Linked DNA regions of Homo sapiens: regions 1, 3, 4, 5 and 6 are each linked to region 2. The links are contacts of gene promoters, found by promoter capture Hi-C in blood cells and fetal thymus (Javierre and others, 2016). All regions are on one chromosome and are shown on one strand. Each heading gives the region's core, a stretch centred on a gene start or on the middle of the fragment in contact. The rest is flanking DNA. Distances are from core to core; before and after follow the strand shown. Region 1 overlaps HDX (highly divergent homeobox). Region 2 holds the start of HDX (highly divergent homeobox). Region 3 overlaps HDX (highly divergent homeobox). Region 4 overlaps HDX (highly divergent homeobox). Region 5 has its middle 210 kb from the start of HDX. Region 6 has its middle 230 kb from the start of HDX.

Region 1 (3,669 bases), core at 1,152-3,651, 180 kb before region 2:
AAACTTACAGACTGCTGAATATGAAAGTGCCTCACAATAGATGTTGCTGTCTTTGGAGAAATGGCTTCTTTGACATCTTTTGAGGTCTTGGTCGAATAAAGAGTACAGGGTATAATTGGGTCTCAGCCTTTTCTTCTCCAACAATAACAAACATTTCTATCACATGCTTGCAATGGCAATACAAAAATCCTGCTGTTGATAACTGACCTTAGGACAAAACATCCCCAGTTTCCATGAAGAGGCCAATTTTCTTTTAAGGTTTTCTTTGCATGTGCTAATTTTCCTATTCTCCAGAGCAATTGCAATTCTCATTTTCTTGTGAATAAGTTTAGCTTGGCTGAAAAGAAGAAAATACCTTCCTTTTTTTTTCATATGTACACATTTTGGAAGGTAAGTGCTCTTACATACACATTTCTGGCTTAAAAACTGCTTGGCTGTTCTAAGCTTAAAGCAGACATAGAAATGTAGTTGAAAGAAAAAAAGAAGTTTTTTCTTGTTGTTGTTTTTTGTTTTTTGTTTTTTTCCACATTGGCTTCTGTCTCCCTGAGAGAGCCTTCAGATAGTAAGGTCTGTTTTAATAATCTCAAAGCCCTAAAGAAAGAAACACTAGTTAGTTAATTTTTATCCCCAGCCATGAAGATGTCCACAAGAGTAATTATAAGCTGATAATTTTTCCTGCTCTAACATATCTCAAAACCAACTCCTATCTACATATGTAAAAAATATACTTTCTTCATAACAACTTTTCAAAGCTTGACCTTGACATCTTTTTCAAAGTCTACCATGAATAATTTCAATCTGGCAATTATGATTCTTTTTCTATAGATAGAGGTATTTCCTTCAGTTCCTGCTACAGAATAGCCACATTTCATTTTAGAAGTGTTTTAATTCCAATGATGGTGAAGAAAAATATTCTGGTGCTGAAACACAAATTTCAAGACAAAAGGAGTTCTAAATGTATTGTTATGATTTATATAGTTTCTATTTTGATGAAATGTTAAACAGAGACAAAAAGATCATCTATGCTTTCTCTCAAAATTGTGGACTAGGAATCCTTCTAAGAATCACACCTAGCAGAACCTTAAATCTATTAAAAATTCTACTTAAATATGGTTTATTAATATCATAGAAGATGTTAAAAAGAAATAATTATTTGTGATGTTTACAGCTTGCTGAGAAATCCAATGTCCAGCACAGTGTCTTCTCTATAGCAGGAGCTCAACAAGTATTTTTCGATTTAGTGACTAATGGCTGATGCGTGACAAATAAAATCTATAGTGTTAAAAGCTGTAGGAGAGAATATACCTATAGTTAATTTGCAATGAGAACCAAATAAGAAGGGGCTTAAATTGAAGCAGAAGTAATTATATTTGAAAGATAAACTCAATGACTATGAAGCAGACCCTAGGAGAGACTTGAAGGCCTGGAATTTGTTCATGCTACTTAATAAGTGGTTTCTAACTTCGTTGTATATGGGGGCGACTCTTCATCTCATGGAGGAGTTGGTGTGACTGGTACATTTAATCGTAATATCTGAGGCTCTGTTACTCTCTGCTGCTTTCTCTGAATGGAATTTGACTTGTCAGCAAGAAAAACTAACTATTGTTTGCAAAACTCCATATGGCTCAAGGAAGCATATCTGAACACTGAAATATTCCTACTAACAAAGGGACCATATCAGTAGTATGGCAGCAATATAAACAAATAAGTGACAAAATGAAAGACTATCAGTGGGAGCTTACCTATTTGTGTGTGTGGGAGGATGGGACACTTCAAGGGTAAAGACATTTATGACTGCCTTTCTGTGTTCATAAGTTAGTACTAGTAAATTTCAAGATCAAATTTGGCTCTAATTACAAATTTTTAAAAATATCTGAATACCTACTAGGTACCAACAAAAATTAAAAACAAATTGGAAACAGAAACTTGATGGCTGAAACAGCCATCCAGCTACTTCATTAATCTTTTAGGTATAGATAGTAATTTAACCATGCAACACAATTGCACACTGCCAAGTCACAAATATATGACACTGTGGGCTTAGGGAGAAACTGACATTTTTTCTTCTATGGGTCTTGGTAATACCATCTGGTACTCCAGAAAGGAAGAACTACAAAGAACAGTCTACAGTGTGTTGCCATCTGGTACCTACTAATAATAGAAAACTGGGTAGCTTGCCCATTTTAGGTGTGTACTCATAGAATAGTATTCATGGAATTCAGAAGACTGTGATTTACAACCAAAGTAGTATAACTCTTTTTGAATACTATCCTTGGCTGATGGCTCTGTACAGGCCTCATATGGAAATGAGGTAAATTTTGTGGCAAAGCTGAATGACTAAATTTTTAAAAAATCTCAGCAGCTTACCTTGACTTCCTGTTTCATAACATGTAAGAACTAAAAAAGAATTATAAAGATGGTGATAAATTTAAAATATTTGTGTAACACTTCATCTAACCCAGGTATACAAATTTACTACTGGAATGTCAATCGTATCAATACTTGTCATTTGTAGTAATGAAGAATCCCCATCAAGACTAATTTTGACAACATTTTGTTTCTGTACACTTCGTAATTTATTTGACGTTATGTTGGTTAAATTACCTTTCCATTGTGCTTCCCCACCCCCACACAAATATTTGGGTTAGATAATAGAAGAACACCAGCAATTTACAATTACATACCTGTAATCATTTAATTTTCAGTCATTAGTTTAAGTCAAATTTTCATAGGGGTTAAAAACTAAATCAGAGAACTCATTAAATAATGAGTTAAATAATTTTTTAAAGTTTTGTTTTAAATGTTCAGTCCACTTTCCTGAGAAAAAGTGTAAGTGGATGATAGGAAAAGGAGAGAAGAAGAAAGAAGATGTAATGGCTACAAAAACAAGACTAATCAAGCTGTAGCAACTTGATAAGCAATGCTGAAATGTCTTTAGTTATTTTGTCTCTGGTTAGAAATTAGACATAATGAATTTCAGGGTTAAACTGCTGAAACTTAAATATAATTTTTTTCCAGAGTTCCATCAGTTAAAAAAATACTCTCTCAAACAATGCTTTTAAATTTCACCTACATTTTTGTTGCACTGTAGCCATTATATCTTGTACATTCTTCACAGAATACGTCCGTTTCAACAATGTGTTTTCCCAACTAAAGAATACCAGGGCAACAGAATGCAGTTATCTTGAAATGCACACCTGTTACGAAGCCAAAAGACTGTATCATATATTCCCTCCAACTGAAATCACAAACTTTCTGAGACATTTTTCTCTGACAAAGAAGATACACTGAATGAGGTATCATCAGGCTCCAGTGAGGCATGATTGAAATCCATTTCCTCTAATTCAGGAGGTAAATCTGACAGCAGTGCCTGAATAAAAAAAATAATATTTTTGGATTAGTATGTGGATAGATTGTTTTCCAATTTATATTAATAGTTGTAGTCCTCCCATGGTGAATTATCCTTATGGATTTAAAGAATAATTTATATTTCAGGATCTTAGACAATGCCTTACCTAAAAGAAAAATTCTTCATACATTATTCAGAAGGTAACAAAATTCTAGATGTTGAAAGTGTGAATTCTGTAGAGTAGAACCTGTACAAAGGGGATATTAGGAGGGAAATGAGCAACTCTTCTGAACCAAGTGCTTTGAAGTGTTTGAGGTTAG
Region 2 (3,793 bases), core at 599-3,098:
GCACTTGTGGAGGGGTGGAATTTGAGTTGAGTTTCCAAAGTGGGTAAGATGTGAATTATGTAGAAGGAGGACATCCTACGTGGAGGGGACAGTAATGGTATAAGGAGCAAAGATATAAAGGTAGATTGTTCTCACTAACTGAACATTAAAGAGAGTTGTGCCCTGAAGAATAAAGGAAAATAAGGCTCCTGCATTACAATGAGGCCAGATTATGAAGTTCTTTAAAATTCGGGTGGAATTAGGCTTGAAACAATAGAAAATAAGGGGCCAAGAATATGTTGGTTAAAGAAAGTGATTTGTTGAAAGAAGTGTTCACAGACCACTAAGGATTTGGGGCACAGGTGAAGACTGCCTAGGAAGCTCCTACAGTGACTACATGGGTGCTGATGAGAATTTAGATTGTAAAGGAGGAACGTGTGAGAAGGCTTTCAAAGGAAAATTTACCAGTACTTGATAATCCCTTAACTATGAGAAATAGAGAAAAATCCAGATTCCTCTGTAAAATTGTCAGGAGTCTATGATCAGACTGTGGAGGGCAATTAATAACAATACTGTACAATCTATTCATCAATAATAGACAGGCAGGTTGTTCTTCATTGTTCCCCACAACTGCTGAGTAATAAAAGCCTTAATATAAGTAATATAACAGCCTTCCCAATGAAGGGGTGCGGGAAAGGGCTTCTCAAAATAATATTTGACTTCAGTGATTCTAGCAGAGACACAGAGGAAGAAGATGGACTCAGCACCAAACTTGATATGGAGACTAAATATTTATAAGAGATTGTCCCAAGAAGAGAAAAAGGCAAGAAAGGAAAATTTCTTACTCTGAGCCTCCACAATGGACTTCATTCTGAGTCTTTCCAAAGAATTTAAGGTTCAAAATCATTGTCACCTCAAATCAGAGCTCCTTTAAGATTAAAAGTTAGATTCATTTGAATAATTAGTGTTTATTTTTCCAAACAGTTTCTTATCTGATAAACTTCTATTTCACAAATTCTTCTAGAGTTCATTCCGTTATTCAACATCTAATATCTGGAAATTTAGAATGTGCCTTCTCAAATTTATAAGGCTCATTTTGAAGCTGGATTTACTCAGTAGGCCAGTTTAAACTAAATGGCAGATCTCTCCCCATCAACTGGTGCTTGAAACATCACAAGGCCTGGGATGTTCCCTGGGTCTCTACTTTCCAAATTCAGCACAGAAATGGCTCAGCCCCACCTCTTCCAGTGAAACCGAAACAGCGCCTGTGCAAACTCCACGCCTATTCTCCTCACAGTGACCCACCCCGCCCCCACCAAGGTGCTAATGCGCAGGCGCTACGCTCTCAGTGCCTTTGAGTAGGGCTGTGAGAAATCTACTGTCCAGTGAAATCTAGAAGTGGTAGAATTCAATCCCCTCCTTTCTTCGGAGGCAGAGGCGCCACTTCCTCCTACTACCCGTCCAGAAGCGCGTCCCAAACATCGCTCTCTCTCCGAGCAAGGTCCTTCGCTCTCTGGCAATCCCCATTGTATCCCTATCCGCAGCTCGTTTCTAATCTCACTCAGCCGCCAGCCTTCGCTAGGAGGATAGAGGCACTTGGCTCCCTAGGATCCGCACCAGTTTTTTGTCTGCCTGTTTAGGCCACGGAACCTATGGACCCCCCCACCCCCAACCTCGCCCCAAACTAGGAAAAGCATTATCCCGGTGCTTTGCCCTCCCTCCTTCGCCCTTCTCACCCACTTAGTGTTGAGTGCTTACCTCGGGTGTGGTGCGGTTACGAAAGGAATCAGCGGAACCCAGATCAGGCCGCTGCTGGGGCAGGCGGATTCAGCGAGATTTTTCCTGGGTCTCCAGTGCCGCTTCAGACAATGAAATCAGCGTGTCCGATCATCAATTCTCATCATGATCGTGACGTCACAAAAGACAGCGGCCAATGGGAGCCTGCGATCAGCTCAGGACAGTCCCTGGCCTCAGCCCAGAACCCAAGAGTTGGGAGGGGGGAAGAGAGATGGCTGCCTGCAACTGGACTGCCTCTTCCTCACACAAATCAGCTACATCTACGGCCAGGGCTCTCTATACCTTCCTGAATAGCTGTGAACACCGAGCATCCCTGTGACTATAGTAGTTACATGCCAGCCATTTGAGCAGGTGCTGCCTGGCCTTCCAACTTGACATTGGGTTTTAACAAAATTGTTACATGCTGCCAAAATCAAATGATAGCATAAGGAAATACAGTCCTTTGTGGTCAGTGTTCGATTGACAGGTAAATATTCAGTTTTACTAAAATCAATAAGGTGTCCATCGAGCCTTTAGAATTTTACAGTAAAAGCAAGTGTACTATTATACGTGACTGGTTGGCTCTGATGACTGAGGAAAGAAACTATGGTTTTTATTCATCCAACCTCAATTCCTATTCTGGCAGAAGCTTCTTGGGTGATCACCATTATACCATTCCAGAAAAGAAGTCAAGCCACATGTTACATCATTTAACAGTCACTTGATATACTTCCCAGATTTGCTGGATGCCATGAGAGATATAGAATTCATTGATTCTCTGCTATCATAGAACTTGCAACATCGTTTGGAAGACAAGATTAGCACACAGTAAATATTCACAACAATAAAATAAAGTACATGATCATGTGCTCAGTCATTAACTACAGACAAGAGCTACATTATTTAATTATTGGAGACATCAGTGAGGTGAAAAGTCAGGGAAGCATTTTATGTAATTAAAACTTGAGATGGTTCTTGAATGGTGGATAAGAGCAGATGGAAGTCACCGTCTTAAAGGGGAAAGATAGGCAAAGGTAGAGACGTATAAATTCATATGATGTGAGGAAGCCCATGATGAAATCAGCTTGACAAATAGAGGGCATATGCTGAGGACTAGTGGTAGATGGAATTGGCTAATAATAAAAGCCTTTGAAAATAGGCAGATAACTTTTATTTGATTAAAAGCCACCAAAAGCCATAAAGCATGTGACCTCAATCCTCTATAGTCAATTATCTACAGAGGAGTTTAGGTGATTTTTTAAAACAAAAGCCAGATTATGCTCAACTTCAGATTGTTCAATGGTTTCCTTTCACATATACAATAAAATGCAGATTTCTTACCATGTCCTCAAAGCCCTAAATGATCTGGCCTCCGCCATCTTTCTGACCTCACCTCCTGTCACTCAGCCACTAATTCACAAATATATTAATCTTCTATTTCTCAAACAAGTCAAGCTCATGTCCACAGCAGTGACCCTGTACTGTTGTACTGTCTGATCTTTATATGACTTACTCCATCACTTGATTGAAATCTTTGCTCAAATGCAACCTCTTTAAAGAGGTTTTCCTATTTAAAATTGTGATATCCTTAACACTCTCTATACCCTTTTTTCTGTTTCATTTTTCTTCATAGTATTTATTATTATTAAATGTATTTTATATATTTAGTTATTGCAAATGTAAGCTCTATGAAGGCAGGGATTTTTGTCTGTTTTGTTTATTATTATATCCCTCAAATCTAGAAAGCCTCTAAATACAAAGTAGACAAATAAGTAAGTACGTATTGAATGAATGACTGAAAGCACATTTTTCAAGTCATTAATTTGCATTTTCAGTAACATTGCGATAGGCTGGAGTGAGAGAGACCAGTTAGACAGTTGTAATGCTAACCCAGCTTCTAGGTGACACACCCCTAGATTAGGGTGTTAAAAATGATGAAATATGAGACTTTCAAAGAAGGAATTATATGGGTAAAGTGGAGGATTCAGAAAAAGCCTATTGATAATTGATTAACGTATTCATAAATTACGTTTATGAA
Region 3 (4,116 bases), core at 1,051-3,550, 140 kb before region 2:
TAACCAATTCAGTTGGAGCAGATCAGAAAAATGCCAGGAGCTATTTCTCTAAGATGATGGAATTATTATATTACCAATGAGTATGAATGTGTTGAAAGGAGACTTAGGCAACTGGGAAAGGGTTTAAAGATAAATTAGTAGTGAGTACCTAGAAAATAACTCAAGCAAACATATGAATATCAAAAGCATAAATTAAGTAAATTATGAACTACAGGGAAATAAAACAATGCTAAGTTATGCAGAAAAGGAAAAAATGATATTTCACTACATAATTCAAATGTGTAAAGCATTTACATAGTCATAATAATGAATACCAAGCTGACCAAAGTTATAGGAGGATAAGGAGAGAGGAATTATGCATGTAAGTGAACAGATCAATGAGGAAATCTTAAAGAGATTTTTTTTTAAGCTTTGCATTTCACAGTGAAAAATCAATAGACTATGCCCAACATTGAACAAATCAGGAAGTTGCAATGTAAACATATAAGAGAGACTGCTGTCTATTCCCCATATTTGTCCTCACCTTCCAGAATAATAGAAGATTTAGCTGGGCACATGGTTGCTCACAGTAAAATTACATTTGCAGCTTCTCTTGTAGTTTGGTATGACCATGTGACTAATCTTTAGCCAATGGGATATAAGTGAACAGATCTCATGGCAGTTTCCAGAAATCCTTGTTAAAAGACAGCTGGTGAACAGCCTTTGCCCCTTATTCTTCTCCCTCTCTGTCATGCTGCCTTGAGTATGTATGCTATCATTTTGGGCCTTGATAAAAAGGGCCACATCACAGGGACAGCGGAATGGAAACTGGAAGGCATCAGGGTTTTTGTGGATATTGTAGAGCCAAACTGCCATGCTAGCTGTAAATTGCATATACATGGACTTATACATGGAATTGAAATATCTTGTCTAAGCCATTGTTACTTTTGGGTCTTTTTAATACTTACAGCTAAACCTAATTCTAATTAATACAACACATCATTCATAGATGAAAGTAAATACTGAAGGAAATAACTAAAAGTGGAAAGTGGTTCAACTCGGGCTATTGCAAAATGGTAGGAAGGAAGGAGTGAGGAATGTTGGTGTTGTAGCAAATTCTACAGAACTTGACTTCCTAAGCTATATACGTATATAACTTTGATTTAAAAAAAATAAAAATGACAATGACAACAAGAACACATGCTCTACATTTCCCTATTTTTGGCTGTTGCTTAAGCTCCTCATACTATGACTCTACTCCAATTCCTCTTCAGTCATTTTTTTTCTTGTGTCATCCCTCTTGCTAGACTCTGAGCTCCTTAAAATAGAAATAATGTCTAATGCACTTCTCTCTCCTTGTTAGTATACTTTAACACATAGCAGCATGCTCAACAAACACAGTATTGAATTTGATTTTCCATCTGGATTCTAACAAGAAAAAGCAAGACTCTGAACAGGGCAGTACTTATTTTGAGAATAGTATTTATTTTCAGAAATCTCTACTCAAAAATTCTCTCTATATTGCTCTTTTCTTCATATATATATGAGATAAGAGCTGGAGTCTCATTAGGTTGTCCTGGCTGCACTTGAACTCTTGGGCTCAAGTGATCCTTCCACCTCAGCCTTCTGAGTGGCTGGGACTACAGGTATGTACTACCAAGCCTGGCTCTTTGTCACTTCTTTAATATACTTCCCTCTTGATCTACTGAGATGATCCTCCAGTGTGTGTACTGGTGTCAACCTACACTTGCTCACAAGCGTCAACTGTTAGCATCTCTTCCCAACTCTGTGTTGAGTGAGACATGGAATCAGCTGTGGTAGGAATCTTTACACCACGGAAATCAGCAAATACTATTAATTAAGGCTTTTTTTTTCCTTAAAGAATTGATTGCTAAGTACTTACCAGCACTACCACTTTCAAAATTTTATCTTTTAAATGGAACATAAACTACTGTTCCAATGATTGATCAGTATAATTTTTAAAATTTTATTTTATTTTATTTTATTTTAAGTTCTAGGATACATGTGCAGGACCTGCAGGTTTGTTACAAAGGTAAATGTGTGCCGTGGAAGGGGTTTGCTGCACTTATCAACCCATGAACTAGATATTAAGCCTTGTATACATTAGCTTTTTTCCTGTTGCTCTCCCTTCCCCCACCCCCCAACAGGCCCCAGTGTGTGTTGTTCCCCTCCTTGTGTCCATGTGTTCTCATTGTTCAGCTCCTACTTATAAGTGAGAACATGTGGGGTTTGGTTTTCTGTTCCTATGTTAGTTTGCTGAGGATAATGGCTTCCAACTTCATCCATGGCCCTGCAAAGGACATGATCTCATTCCTTTTTATAGCTGCATAGTATTCCATGTTGTATATGTATCACATTTTCTTTATCCAGTCTATCACTGATGGACATGTGGGTTGCTTCCATGTCCTTGCTATTGTGAATACTGCTGCAATGAACATACGTGTGCATGTATCTTTATAATAGGATGATTTATAATCCTTTGGGTACATGCCCAGTAATGGGATTGCTGGGTCAAACGGTATTTCCGGTTTTAAGTCTTTGAGGAATCACCACACTGTTTTTCACAATGGTTGGATTAAAGACTTAAATGTAAAACCCAAAACTATAAAAACCTTAGAAGAAAATCAAGGCAATACCATTCAGGACATAGGCATGGGCAAAAGATTTTATGACAAAAACATCAAAAGTAATTGCAACAAAAGCAAAAATTGACAAATGGGATCTAATTAAACAAAAGAGTTTCTGCACAGCAAAAGAAACTATAATCAGAGTGAATAGAAAACTTACAGAAAGAGAAATTTTTTACAATATACCCATCTGACTAAGGTCTAATATACACAGTCTACGAGGAACTTAAACAATTTTACAAGTAAAAAACAAACAACCCCATTAAAAAGTGGGCAAAGGACATGAACAGAGAGTTCTCAAAAGAAGAAATTTATGCAGCCAACAAACATGAGAAAAAGCTCAACATCACTAATCTTTAGAGAAATGCAAATTAAAACCACAATGAAATACCATCTCACGCCAATCAGAATGGCAATTATTAAAAAGTCAAGAAACAACAGATGCTGGCAAGGCTGTGGAGAAATAGGAACACTTTTACACTGTAGGTGGGAATGTAAAATAAATTTTTATCTATCATTCATTATATGAGATATATTTCAATTCACCTCATGTAATTTTTAAACAATGTTATTGAGATATATTTAAAACACCACACAATTCATTTATTTAATATGTACAATTAAAATGTTTTCAACATATTCACAGTGCTGTGCACCAGTCACCACTAACTAATCTAGAACATTTTCATCATGCCAAAAATAAATCCCATGCATATTAACAGTCAGGTCCCATCCCTCCCCTCCCTCAGCTCTTGGCACCACTAACCTATTTTCTGTCTCTAGAGTGTGCCTAATGAGGACACTTCATATAAATGAAATAATATAATATGTGGTCTTTTGCAATGGGTTTCTTTCATTTAGCATAATGTTTTTAAGGTTCATCCGTTTTATAGCACATATGAATATTTCATTCCTTTATATGGCTCTATAATAGTCCATTATATGCATATATCCAGATGTTGTCTATACATTCACTTGGTGGATGTTTGGGTTGTTTCCATTTGGATATTATGGAAAACTCTGTTATGAATATCAGTGTGCAACTTTTTGAGTTGGATATACATTTTTTATTCTTTTGAGTAGATTGAAATCCATTCCAGCAGTGGAATTTTTGGTCATATGATAACTCTGTGTTAAACTTTTTGAGGACTGTTGTCAAAGTTGCTAAAATATTTTACATTCTTACCAGCAACGTATCAGGGCTACAATTTCTCCATATCCTGGCCAAAACTCATTATTATATACCTTTTATGTTAATATTGTTACAGTGGATAAATGGCAACTTGTGGTTTTTATTTTCATTTCCATAATGACTAATGATGTTGAACATAATTTCAGGTAAATATTGGCAATATGTATATCTTTTTAAAACAAATATCTATTCATTTCCTTTGCCTATTTTTAAAATTGGGTTATTTGCAATTTTATTATTGACTTGTAAGTGTTCTTTACATCCTTTGATACATATTCCTTATCAGATATATGATTT
Region 4 (3,995 bases), core at 838-3,337, 160 kb before region 2:
CCTCCTACTCTGATCCTGGTAACCTCTTTTTTTTCTCTATCTGTTTATATTTGACTGTTTTTCTCCCCTGCCATTTGCCACAACATGGATAGACCCTGATATGGTTTATGTCTGTGTCCCCTCCCAAAACTCATGTCAAATTGCAATCCCCAATGTTGCAGTTGGAGCCTGGTGGGAGGTGATTGGATCATGGGGGTAGATTTCCCTTTTGATGCTGTTCTTGTAAGAGTGAGTGAGTTCTCAAGAGATCTGGTGTTGAAAGTGTGTAGCACCCCATCCCTCTTCTTCCTGTTCCAGCCATGTAAGACCTGCCTGCTTCCCTTTCACCTTCTGCCATTATTGTAAATTCCTGAGGCCTCCCTGAGAAGAAGCCAGCAACATGCTTCCTTTACAGCCTGCAGAACTGTGAGCCAATTAAATCTCTTTTCTTTATAAATTACCCAGTCTCAGGTATTTCCTTATAGCAGTGCTGGAACAAACTGAAGCAGACCTGCAGGACATTATGCTGAGTGAAATAACTGAACACAGAAAGGAAAATATTGCATGATCTCACTTATATGTGGAATCTTAAAAACAGGTCAATTTAATTTTTTTAAAGAACGGTTCATAGACAGAGGAGCCTTTACCTACTCATTATTTAGACATTTCAAATCACAGACATTTCAATTCCTATGTAATCAGCAACAAAATGTAATGAAGGAAGGGAAAAAGTGTCATCAGCCAGTATTAGCACTAGTGGCCTCAGAAGAGAGTTTATATTGCTTATCAACAAGGTAACATTCTTTAAAGGTTTGCCTTATATTCCTATTCTCCTTTTCTCATAACTTTGTACACAGTTCTCCTTTACTGGCAACATATTTTGTACATGGTTTGATTATTTTGGAAGATTAAAATTAAAACTATATTGAGGATTTCTAAAATAAAAGGATGTGAAGTGATACAGTTGAATAAGGAATGTTTTCTTTCGCTTACAGAAGCTTCAATATTTGTGAATGTTTGAAATCTAAACACTATCTACGTGCCTGGTAATTCCCCAAGAAAAGCAGCTCTGCTAATTGGATAATAAAGTGGAATAATTACCCAGTAAAAACTCTAGAGGGCGCCCTATGTGGTGGCTGTATGTACTCCCACTAAGTAACTGTATAATTATCTTTCACGTGCATACCCATATAATAGATACAGCTGAAAAAAGAGGCTGTGATGTAAAATTTAATGACATAGATGTTAATTGTTCTCATCTTTAAAAATTTTGGTTCTCAGGATAGTAAAAATCTTTAAAGTTGTTCAAACATAAATTTATTTTTCACTGTATATTAATTGTAGATACAGAAATTAAGGAGCTCAGCCATCTAGCTATTACTTTTGCTACAGTTTGCAGTTGTGGGAGGGGTGAGCTCAGGTAGGTTTATTTGTTTTTGTTTTTGTTTTTTATCTTTCCTAACCACACTTCTTTTCTCTTCATCACCACACAGGGAAAGGGAAAGGAAATGGGAAAGGGAAGGTGGGAGGTGGAAGGTGGAAGTTAGAGGTAAGTCAGAAGTTCTGTATTAGGGAAGTATCTACCCTCTCAGAAACAAATGAGTGGAACTGAAACTGCTAAAAGACCAGCAGCACTTTTTTTGACTCTTACTAAAGCTGCCTTTTACTGAATTTTAAAAAAATCTTAATTTTTGCTTATACAGATTTTTCTAGAATATTTTAATGTGATTTTCAATTGATTTTTAATATGTAATATGTAACCCTAACTTAAAGATATCTTTCCCTTCTTAGATAATGCTACTGAATCAGTAGCCCTATTATAAGCAGTCTGAATTTCAGTTGTTAGGTTTTTGAAATACTATGGGCAGCTAATTTTAGAATAATCTAAAGATTATTTTTTCTTTATATTTCTTAGATGTAATTAATGGAAATTTCAAAGTAGAAATATATTTAAATACATTTTCATAAACTGGAAGGAAAATGGTTAGCATATTTTAAAGGCATGATATTAATTTAGGCCAGATGATATGATTCACTTAATCAAACGAATCGTATTAGTATTCTCCACTAGCAAAATGAGGAAGAGAATAGGACATAACTAGTAGGAAACTGTACCAAAAAGGGCTGTTTTCAGTATTTGAAAATGATTTTATGCTTTTCTGTTGCAATTTCTGTGAGAATGAAAAGGTTACCATGCAGCTGTGGAAAGATAAGCCACCGATAAAAAATTCTAGGCAATCACACTTCTGATCAAGTGTTTTTTGATTCATGCATTAAATTCTCTTTCTTCTTTTTCTCATTGTGTCTTGATTACTATGCCAGCTATTTAAAGAACACACCATGACAAAGAATGTCAGTGTAGGAGCAGTGGTCCATTAAGAGTGGACCATTAAGTGGTCTTTAAAATTAACTTTCACTTTTTTTCCTTCAACTACTTATTTTCTAAAATTATCTTTTAGGTGGAGAAGTGGGAGTTGGGAAACGAAACTTCACTTAGGGTCTTCTGTACTTTCTCTGAATATTTTCTCTCAGCTCACCCACTCAACCACAGAAACACACAAATCCCTACTTCCCCACTCTCCTTCAGCTAGTCACCACTCAGCAGGCTCTAAAACACCAGTCATGAGTCACTGGGAATATCCAAGTATCTCCAGGCATATGCAATTTAGTAAACACTAACCAATGACAGAAATGGTTTAAAGGACCAACTATATTAGAAATAAAGGGCTTGGAAATGGTGCAATATTTCTTTTTTTCTTGATAATTTTAAAATCTGCCTCACTATTTCCCTGTACACTTAATTCTCTGTTATCATCTTCAATATGAATAACAAATGTTAAGAAAGAGAGAGAGAGAGAAACTTGAATATTCACATAGATAACATTTCAAATACCTGATCTTAACATGCATGGCCCTCTTAATACTAGTAGCTTTGCTTTCCCTTTCATTACTCAACCTACTGCAATCTGCTTGCCTCTCCTCTCCCCATGCAGTTAATTGCTTTTTTAAAGAATTTCTAAAACACCAAATTCAATGGCTTTCTCATCCCTTTTTCTACTTAACTTCTATGAGACCACGAGACTACTGAAATAATGACGCCTCTTCCTTCTGAAATCTCCTTATTTGTTTTTTTTTTTTTCTTAATTTTAGAGACAGAAGTCACTACGTTGCTGAGGCTGGAGTACAGTGGCTATTCACAGGTGCAATCAGAACACACTGAAGCTTCAAACTCCCAACTTCAAGGGATCCTTTTCGCCTCAGCTTTCCAAGTAGCTGAGACTACAGGCATGCCACTGCACCCGACTCTTTCCTTGATTTTAGGAAAAGCATACTGTCCTGCTTCTTCTGTTTCTGAATGTTCTTTCAAGGGCTCCCTTTTCTCCTCCAATGCCCAAATCTGGATATTTATCAATACACAGTCTTTGTCCATTGTCCTTTCTTGTTTTTCATTTTCTCACTTAACTAAATCTTCAATCTTCATGGCTAGATATTTTTTGCCTCAATGTGGGTGACTTCCATATTTCTTTTTATGTCTTAAGCACTCATCTGAGTTTCAGACTCATATCATCCAAAGGCCTGCTTGGACAGCTCTACATGGATGTCCAACCACTATCTAAAATTCAATACGTGCAAAGCTGAATTCATCTTCCTACAGTATTCTATAAATTTAATACAATGCCAAGAAAAATCTTGAATGGATGTTGGGGAAGGAGATTTGGAAAAGGTATGCTTAAACAGTTCAAATTGTATGACTAAACAATTCAAGAATCAATATACTACAAAGCAAAGAAGAATGAGGGCCCTACCAGCTATTAAGACATTTTATAAAGCCAAAGTTGTAAACTGTCAAATCAGTGTAACAATAAGCAGTCTCAGATTTGACCCACATGTGTATATGTGTACGTCTGCATGTGTGTATATGTGTGTGCATGTGTGTGTGTGTGTGTGTGAGAGAGAGAGAGAGTGTGTGTGTGTATTTAATAAAAAGCTACATTCCAACTCACTGGTAAAAGATG
Region 5 (3,966 bases), core at 689-3,188, 210 kb after region 2:
ATATTAATTACCAATTTATGAAGGAAGATATTATTTGATTAAGCATAAATTGTGTCCAGTTAAATAAAATTTGCTTGCGTTTTTCCTTGTCCCTTACTTTTTGTCTTGACTTCTAAAATAATGAAAACTAGTGATAGAGAAGTCATGATTGAATAGCTATTTCTATGATTTTGGAATAGTAGTCAGATACCTTCTTAGTATGTACACTTTATAATTTTTTTTTAGGTTCAAGGGTACATATGTAGGTTTGTTATATAGGTAAACTGCATGTCATGAGGGTTTGCTGTACAGAAGACTTCCTCACCCAAGTAATAAGCATAGTACCAGATAGGTAGTTTTTTGATTCTCTCCCTCCTCCCACCCTTCACCCTCAAATAGGCCTCAATGTCTGTTGTTCTCTTTGTGTCCACGTGTTCCTATTGTTAAGCTCCCACATATAAGTGAGAACATGTGGTATTTGGTTTTCTGTTCCTGTTAGTTTGCTAAGCATGATGGCCTCCAGCTTCATCCATGTTGCTTCAAAGGACATAATCTCATTCTTTTTTGACTGTGTAGTTTTTCATAATGTACATATACCACATTTTCTTTATCTACTCTACTTCTGATGGACATTTAAGTTGATACCACATCTTTGCTATTGTGAATAGTGCTAAAATAAACATACACATGCATAGGTCTTTATAGTAGAACAATTTATGTTCCCTTGAATATATACCCAATAATGGGATTGCTGGGTTGAATGGTAATTATTTTAAGTTTTTTGAGGAATTGCCACACTGCTTTTCACAATGGCTGAACTAATTTACATTCCCACCCCCAGTGCATAAGCATTCTCTTTTCTCTGCAACCTTGCCAGTATCTGTTACTTTTTGTAATAATAACCATTTTGTAATAAGAGCCAATGGTATCTCATTGTGGTTTTGATTTTCACTTCCCTAATGTGAGATGGTATCTCATTGTGGTTTTGATTTGCACTTCTCTAACGATTAGTGATGTTGAGCATTTTTTTATATGCTTGTTGGCTGCATGTATGTCTTCTTTTGAAACGTGTCTGTTCGTATCCTTTGTCCACTTTTTAATGGGATTGTTTGTTTTACACGTATTAATTTTTTAAGTGCTATATAGATTCTTTATGTTAGACCTTTGTCAAAGGCATATTTTGCAAAAATTTTCTCCCATTCTGTCAGTTGTCTGTTTACTCTGTTGATAGTTTCTTTTGCTGTGCAGAAACTCTTTAATTAGATCTCATTTATCAATTTTTGTTTTTGTTGCAATTGCTTTTGCTTTTGGCATCTTTGTCATGAAATCTTTGCCAGTATTTATGTCCAGAAAGATATTTCCTAGGTTATCTTCCATGGTTTTTATTGTTTTGTGTTTTGCATTTAAGTCTTTAATCCATCTTGAGTTAACTTTTGTATAAGGTGTAAGGAAGGGGTCCAGTTCCAATCTTCTGCATATGGCTATCCAGTTATCCCAGCACCATTTATTGAATGGGGACTCCTTTCCTCATTGCTTTTCTTTTTTTTTTTTTTTGGGACTTGCAAATGTCATATGATTATAGGTGTGTGGCTTTTATTGCCTGAGTTTTCTATTCTGTTTCATTGGTCTATGCACCTGTTTTTGTACCAGTACAATGCTGTTTTGGTTACTATAGCCTTATAGTGTAGTTTAAAGTCAGGTAATGTGATGCCTCTGGCTTTGTTCTTTTTGCTTAGAACTGCTTTGGCTATTCAGGCTCTTTTTGATTCCATATGAATGTTAGAATAGTTTTTTTTCTAACTCTGTGAAAAATATCGGTACCAAATAAGTGTCTACTATGCCTCCTCTTACATTTGAATATTAATTCTGAAATTTTAGTTTAGAAAAGGTTTTCACTATGACTTTCTATTAAGCACAGGTGCTACTAGTAAAGCAATACTGTCCTCTAAGTGCCTAAGTATACTGTGTTTCATTTTAAATGCAACTGAGAAATTACAACTTTATGATTTGTTTTGCTTTGCAGCCAATAACTATAACTAGTTCAATAACTACAACTAGTTCATCAAGTGAATGTAGATTTCCTCTTCAAGTTGTGTCTCTTCAAAATGAAAGAGTACCTGACAGTTTTGAATATTTTTCTCCAGGAAAGCTCAACACTCCAAGGTAAGCCTCATTGATAATTGAGTCTACAAATCTTATCATGGAGTAAAATATACACATAGTTTACTTTTATTTTATACTACATTTTAACATGATATTCAGCCTCCAGAATAATGATGTATTGATTGGATAAGGACAAGAAAATGGTATATTTGCAAGGAAGTAGCCTAGTCAGGCAATTACTTTCAGATGTGCTGTAAAACAGTTAATGTGAGGCAAGATGTAAGTGAGTGTAAAATCTGTGTACACTGATAGTCTTCCAATTTGTTCACAGGAAGTTTAGTGTTTTATCTTGCTTTCTACAGCCTGAAATATAAAAATATGTACTATATAATGCTTTCCTAAAATAGGATTTTCAACAAAAAAAAGTGTTTGCTAACATTTGATGAATATTTAAACAAGTATTCATTCATGTTTGTCTTTTCTTTAAGTAATGAAGAAGCTGTTACTACGCAACAGGATGAAGGAAATGAATCTGAAACAGAAGTTTCTCACACAAAAGGTTCTGAAATTTTATCTGGTTCTTTGGACTATAAAAGTCTCCAACATCTGACAATAATTAAAAGTCATAGTCCCCTTATGGACTCTGACTCTGAAGGATGTGATTGATTCTGACTCTGATAGAGGCATTGGTTTGGACTCTGACTTAGAACAACACTTGAAAGACTCTGACTCGGTAATATGGGGAATGGACTCAGAAAAACATACTAGAGACTCAGACTGTGAAACACCTGCTAGAAGCAGAAAACTACCAAATAGCTTCAGGCTATGCAGAAAACCCGATGAGAGTTGAACAGTGCCAGGTGGACTCTGACTCTCTGCAACACTGGATGGACTTTGGTTCAGTAAAAATGCTTGGTAGATTCTGACTCTGAAAAATATCTGTATTCTGACAATGAAAGACTGGGGATAGACTCAGACTCTGAAAAATGCCCCATGGCCTCTGCATCTGTGAAACACTTGCTGAAGACAGAGAAATGCCAAATGGCCTCAGATTCTGTAAAACACCTGATGGACTCTGAAAAAATATTGACTGAGACTGAAAAACTCTGGATGGTCTCTGCTTCTTAGAGGTATCTGATGGACTCAGACACAGAGATGGGTGAAACGGTCTCAGCCTCTTTACCTGGGGTACATCTGATGGAGGAAGAAAAATACCAGGAGAAGGCTAGATCTAAAAGATATATGATGGACTTTAGCTCTGAACCATGTGGGATGGACTTAGATTCAGGAAGATATGGGCTAGGCTTAGCAGCTTTCAAATTTCTCATGAATGCTAATACATTCCATTTGAGGACTGACACTGAAGGGCTCTGGATGAATTATGGGTCTGAAAGACGTACAATGGACTCACACTCTGAAAGCCTGGGGATGAGCTCTGATTCTGGAAAACACATGATAAAGTCTGAAAATTGCCAAAGAACCTCTGAATTGGAAAGATGCTGGACAAGACTCAAGTCTGAATCTGAAAGATATCAGATGGACTCTAATAAAATACAGTCAGATTTTGACTATGGTAGATTCTGGGATTGTTCTATAACATAGCAGCATAGGTCTGCAAGACTTTTGAATAGCTCTGGAAGATATCAGGATGGCCCTCTAAAATATTTGGAAAACTTTGAAAGACATCATGTAGACTCTAATTCTAAAAACACACAAATTCTAAAAAATTAAAGACAACAACATTGAGTTTGAAAGTGAAAGACACCTGATGAGGATGCAGAGGGAACAGTGTCTGACACAATTTGCAAATGAGAGACGTCAAATGGATGAAGAGAAGGAAAATCATCTTATGGAGTCTGACAGTGAAAATGAACACAGAATTGC
Region 6 (4,053 bases), core at 814-3,313, 230 kb after region 2:
CAGTGAGGATGACCAGTGGTCACTCTCGTAGCCATCTTGGTTTTGGTGGGTTTTGGCCAGCTTCTTTACTGCAACGTGTTTTATCAACAAGGTCTTTATGACCTGTATCTTGTGCCGATCTCCTATCTCATCCTGTGACTTAGAATGCCTTAACCATCTGAGAATGCAGCCCAGTAGGTTTCAGCCTCATTTCCCCCAGCCCCTACTCAAGATGGAGTTGCTCTGGTTAATCGCCTCTGACATTATCTTGCTATTTCCAAGTGGCTAAGGAACAACAAAAGCCTCTAATCTGCCAAAAAAAAAAAAAATTCTAGATCTTTTAAAATTTCTTTCCACAATGTCTTGAAATTTTTAGAGTAAATTTAAACTTCCCTTGTTAAATTTGACTCAAATCATTTTATTCTTTCTGATGCTATTCTAAATGGAATTGTTTTCTTAATATAATTTTTTGATTCTCTATTGCATGCATATACAAATGCAATTGATTTTTGAACATTGATCTTGTATCTTGAGCTTTGACAAAATTATATATTAGTACTAATAATTTTTAGTAGATTCATTATGATTTTCTGAATACAATAATATATCATTTGCAAATAAAGTTGCTTTTTTCTTTCCAATTTACATGTTTTTTATTTCTTTTCTTTCCCTAATTTCTCTGGTTAGAAGTTCCATTACAATGTTGAATAGAAATGAGAAAGTAGCCATCATTGTTTCATTTCTTAGGGGAAAAACATCCAGTATTTCACCATTAAACATGATTTATGTTGTGAGTTTTTATAGTCTTCTTTTATCAGAGAGTGTTCTGTTTCTAGTTTGTTAAGTGTCTTTATCATAAAAGAGTGTAGAATGTCATCAGATTTTTTTCCACATGTATTGATATGACCTTGTGGTTTTGTTTTTTATTCTATTAATATAGTGTATTACATTAATTGATTTTTGCATGTTAAACAAACCTTGCATTTTGGGGATAAATCCCAGTCATGATGTATAATCCTCTTAATATGTTGCTGAATTAAGTTTGCTAGTATTGTGTTGAGGATTTTTGCATCTGTTTTCATAAGAGATACTGGTCTATTCTTTTATTGCGATATCTTTATGTGGCTTTGGAATCAGAGTAATTCTGACTTCATAGTATATATTAGAAAGTGTTCTCTTATATTTCATGAGAAGAATTGGTGTTAATTCTTCTTTTAATGTTTGTTAGACTTCACTATTGAAATCATCTGGTCCTGTGCTCTCCTTTTTTTTTTTTTTTTTTTTGAGACAGGGTCTCACTCTGTCACCCAGGCTGGAGTGCAATGTCATGATCTTGGCTCACTGCAACCTCTGCCTCCCAGCCTCAAGCAATCCTCTCACTTCACCCACCTAAGTAGCTTGGACTACAGGTGTATACCACCACACCTAGCTATTTTTTTTATATTTTTTTTGTAGAGATGAGATTTTTCCATTTTGCCCAGGCTGGTCTCCAACACCTGGACTCAAGTGATCCACCCACCTTAGCCTCCCAAAGTGCTGGGATTACAGGTGTGAGCCACCACACCCAGCCTGGATGTTCTTGATTACTGACTCAACCTCTTCAATTATAGGTCTGTTCAAATTCTCTATTTCTTCTTGAGCAAGTTTTGATAGTTTCTTTCTAGCAATTTGTTCATTTCATCTACATTGTCTAGTTCGTTAGTGCACAAGTGTTCATAATGTTTTTCTATAATCCTTTTTATTTCTGTAAGCACTATAGTAATGCCCCATTTTCATTTCTATTTTTAGTAATTTGAGTCTTCTCTCTTTTCCTAGTCAGTCTAGCTAAAGACTTGCCAATTTCGTTGATCTTTTCAAAGAGGAAACTTTTGGTTTCATAGATCCTCTCTATTTTTTTTTTCATTCTCTCTTCAATTTTCTCTCCCCTAATCTTTATTATTTCTTCCATCTTCTAGCTTTGAATTTAACTTGTTCTTTTCCTAATTCTTTGAGGTATAAGGTGATGTTATTGATTTGAAATCTTTCTTTCTATATAATGTATCAACAACTATACATTTTCCTCCGATCACCATTTTTGCTGCATCCCATAGATTTTTGTATGCTGTATTTTCACCTTCTTTTGTCTCAAAATATTTGAAAATTTTTCTTTTAACTTGTCTTTGACTCTTGGTTGTTTAAGAGTGTGTTTTTTAATTTCCACATATTTGTAGATTTTCCATTTTTCTTCCCCTATTGATTTCTTGTTTCTTTCCATTCTAGTTGGAGAACATAGCTTACATTTTTAACCTTTTTAAATATATTTGTTTCTTATGCTCTGTCATATAGACTATACTGGAGAATGTTCCATGTAGATTTAACAATAATTTATTTGTTGTTTAGCGGAGTGTTTTATTGGTGTCTCTTAAGTCTAACTGGTTTTCTATTTATTTTTTGATCTTTCATCTAATTGTTATATCCATTATTGAATATGGGGTATCAAAATGCCCAACTCTCTCTGTTCATTTCTGTCAAGTTTTGATTCATGTATTTCAGTACTTTCTTATTAAATATATGTATACTTATAATTGTACTATCCCCATGGTGGGTTCAATGTTTTACCATTAGAAAATGTGTGTGTTTTAAAGTCCTCTGTGTTTAATATTAGCACAGTCACTTAAACTTTCTGTGGCTGCTGTTTGTATGATTTATATTTTTTCATCCTTTTACATTCAATCATTTTGTATTTTGAAATCTATACTGTGAATTGTCTAGGTGGCATATAGGTGACTCTTATTTTATTATCCCATCTGACAATCTCTGCTTTTGACTGGATTGTTTAATCCATCCACATTTAATGTTATTACTGTTACAGTAAGATTTAAGTATGCCATTTTACTTTTTTATTTCCAATTTGTTTCATGTCTTTTTTCATCCTCTATTTCTTCTTTACTGCTTTCCTTTGCATTAAGTGAATGTTTTCTAATGAAACATTTCATTATTTATCATAACCTTTTTGTAATTTATTTTTATTTCCTTAGTAGTTGCCCTACAGCTTACTATGCACATTTTAACTTATCAGAATGATCTTCAGATTTATGGCAACTTAATTCCAATGAGATATAGAAATGTTACTTCTATAGCACTGTATTATGTTTTTCTCCTTTATGGTATTAGTGTTTTTTATATATGTATATATTGTCTTAATGTTAAAAACCCATTAATACATTGCTATAATTATTATTTTATACAAGTTTATGTCATTTAGAGAATCTGAGATAAGAAAGGAGAACAAAGATATATCCTCTGGAGAGGATGAGCACTGTGTCCTCACATGGCAGAAGGCAGAAGGACAAAAATGGTGCCTTACTAGTTGCCTCCAGCCCTTGTATAAGGTCACTAATCTCATCTATGAGGGGAGAATTTTCATGGCCTAATTACTTCCTAAAGGTCTTACCTCTTATTAATGTTATATTAGGGATTAAGTTTTAATATAAATTTTGGAAGGGACACATTCAAACCATAGCAGCATCCTTAGTTTTGAACTTCACTATTGCAAATAAAGTAAGTTTATTTGGGAAGAGAAAAGGATCTATCTGTTTTATGGCCTGCTTCTTCCACCAGGCAAAATCTCTGAGACAGATCTGGAGCTGGGGTTGGAGACAATGACACACTTGTCTTTGAGCAATACTCCTGCTCTAGGAGCTGAGCGCTCAGTGAATGTGGGGATAGACTTAGGTCTCCTTGACTCACTTCTCCTGTCATGGGACCACTGCCTTATGAGCTGGAGAAAAGGTAATTGGGGCCTCAGTATTCTAAGCATTACCATATCCAATTTAGAGCCTCCATTCCATGAGTGGGGACTGGCAAGAGAAAATGAGCCTCAACTTTTGGCCATACTCTCCCAACACTTAGCCTCAGCAACATGGAGCTGGGGGCAGGATAAGAAGTACTGATGTCCTGCTACTCCAGAGAAAGAAGTCCCCTAACTGAGAGCTCTGGGGAAAGGAAACCCTGTGCTCTTAGCTATTGAGAGGAGTTAGCCAGCTTGCTTTAGGCAGACGGTAAAGGAAGGGTCCTGAGAGAACCTCCGACCCA

Evidence for each region. Contacts are between HindIII fragments. The CHiCAGO score rates a contact against its expected background, and 5 or more counts as called.
Region 1: a fragment that was not itself captured here is called in contact with the fragment with the promoter of HDX in region 2 in 4 of 17 cell types (M0 macrophages, monocytes, M1 macrophages and 1 more); the score reaches 6.7 in M0 macrophages.
Region 3: a contact is called between a fragment that was not itself captured here and the fragment with the promoter of HDX in region 2, in 1 of 17 cell types (monocytes). The highest score is 10.2, in monocytes.
Region 4: a contact is called between a fragment that was not itself captured here and the fragment with the promoter of HDX in region 2, in 4 of 17 cell types (monocytes, M2 macrophages, M1 macrophages and 1 more). The highest score is 19.3, in monocytes.
Region 5: a contact is called between a fragment that was not itself captured here and the fragment with the promoter of HDX in region 2, in 2 of 17 cell types (monocytes and M0 macrophages). The highest score is 16.4, in monocytes.
Region 6: a fragment that was not itself captured here is called in contact with the fragment with the promoter of HDX in region 2 in 1 of 17 cell types (monocytes); the score reaches 8.0 in monocytes.

What each region holds. Positions count from the first base shown.
Region 1 is chrX:84,318,645-84,322,313 of GRCh38, forward strand. HDX (highly divergent homeobox) reads right to left here. Exons shown (of 11, transcript NM_001177479.2): 11 at 1-3,370. The coding sequence ends at 3,245. Among named protein-coding and RNA genes, the nearest start is that of MIR548I4, 95 kb to the left of the region's middle. The HindIII fragment of the contact is 3,302 bases long and covers 751-3,669 here.
Region 2 is chrX:84,500,605-84,504,397 of GRCh38, forward strand. It overlaps HDX (highly divergent homeobox), which reads right to left and starts at 1,849. Exons shown (of 11, transcript NM_001177479.2): 1 at 1,738-1,849. RefSeq lists a silencer at 1,873-2,022. The HindIII fragment of the contact is 2,765 bases long and covers 1-2,402 here.
Region 3 is chrX:84,357,215-84,361,330 of GRCh38, forward strand. All of the region lies in intron 6 of HDX (highly divergent homeobox), which reads right to left. Among named protein-coding and RNA genes, the nearest start is that of MIR548I4, 130 kb to the left of the region's middle. The HindIII fragment of the contact is 3,787 bases long and covers 408-4,116 here.
Region 4 is chrX:84,338,611-84,342,605 of GRCh38, forward strand. The region is part of intron 7 of HDX (highly divergent homeobox); the gene reads right to left. Among named protein-coding and RNA genes, the nearest start is that of MIR548I4, 110 kb to the left of the region's middle. The HindIII fragment of the contact is 2,224 bases long and covers 976-3,199 here.
Region 5 is chrX:84,714,597-84,718,562 of GRCh38, forward strand. It overlaps the pseudogene TEX16P. Among named protein-coding and RNA genes, the nearest start is that of HDX, 210 kb to the left of the region's middle. The HindIII fragment of the contact is 4,245 bases long and covers 1-3,966 here.
Region 6 is chrX:84,731,043-84,735,095 of GRCh38, forward strand. It overlaps the pseudogene TEX16P. Among named protein-coding and RNA genes, the nearest start is that of HDX, 230 kb to the left of the region's middle. The HindIII fragment of the contact is 7,467 bases long and covers 1-4,053 here.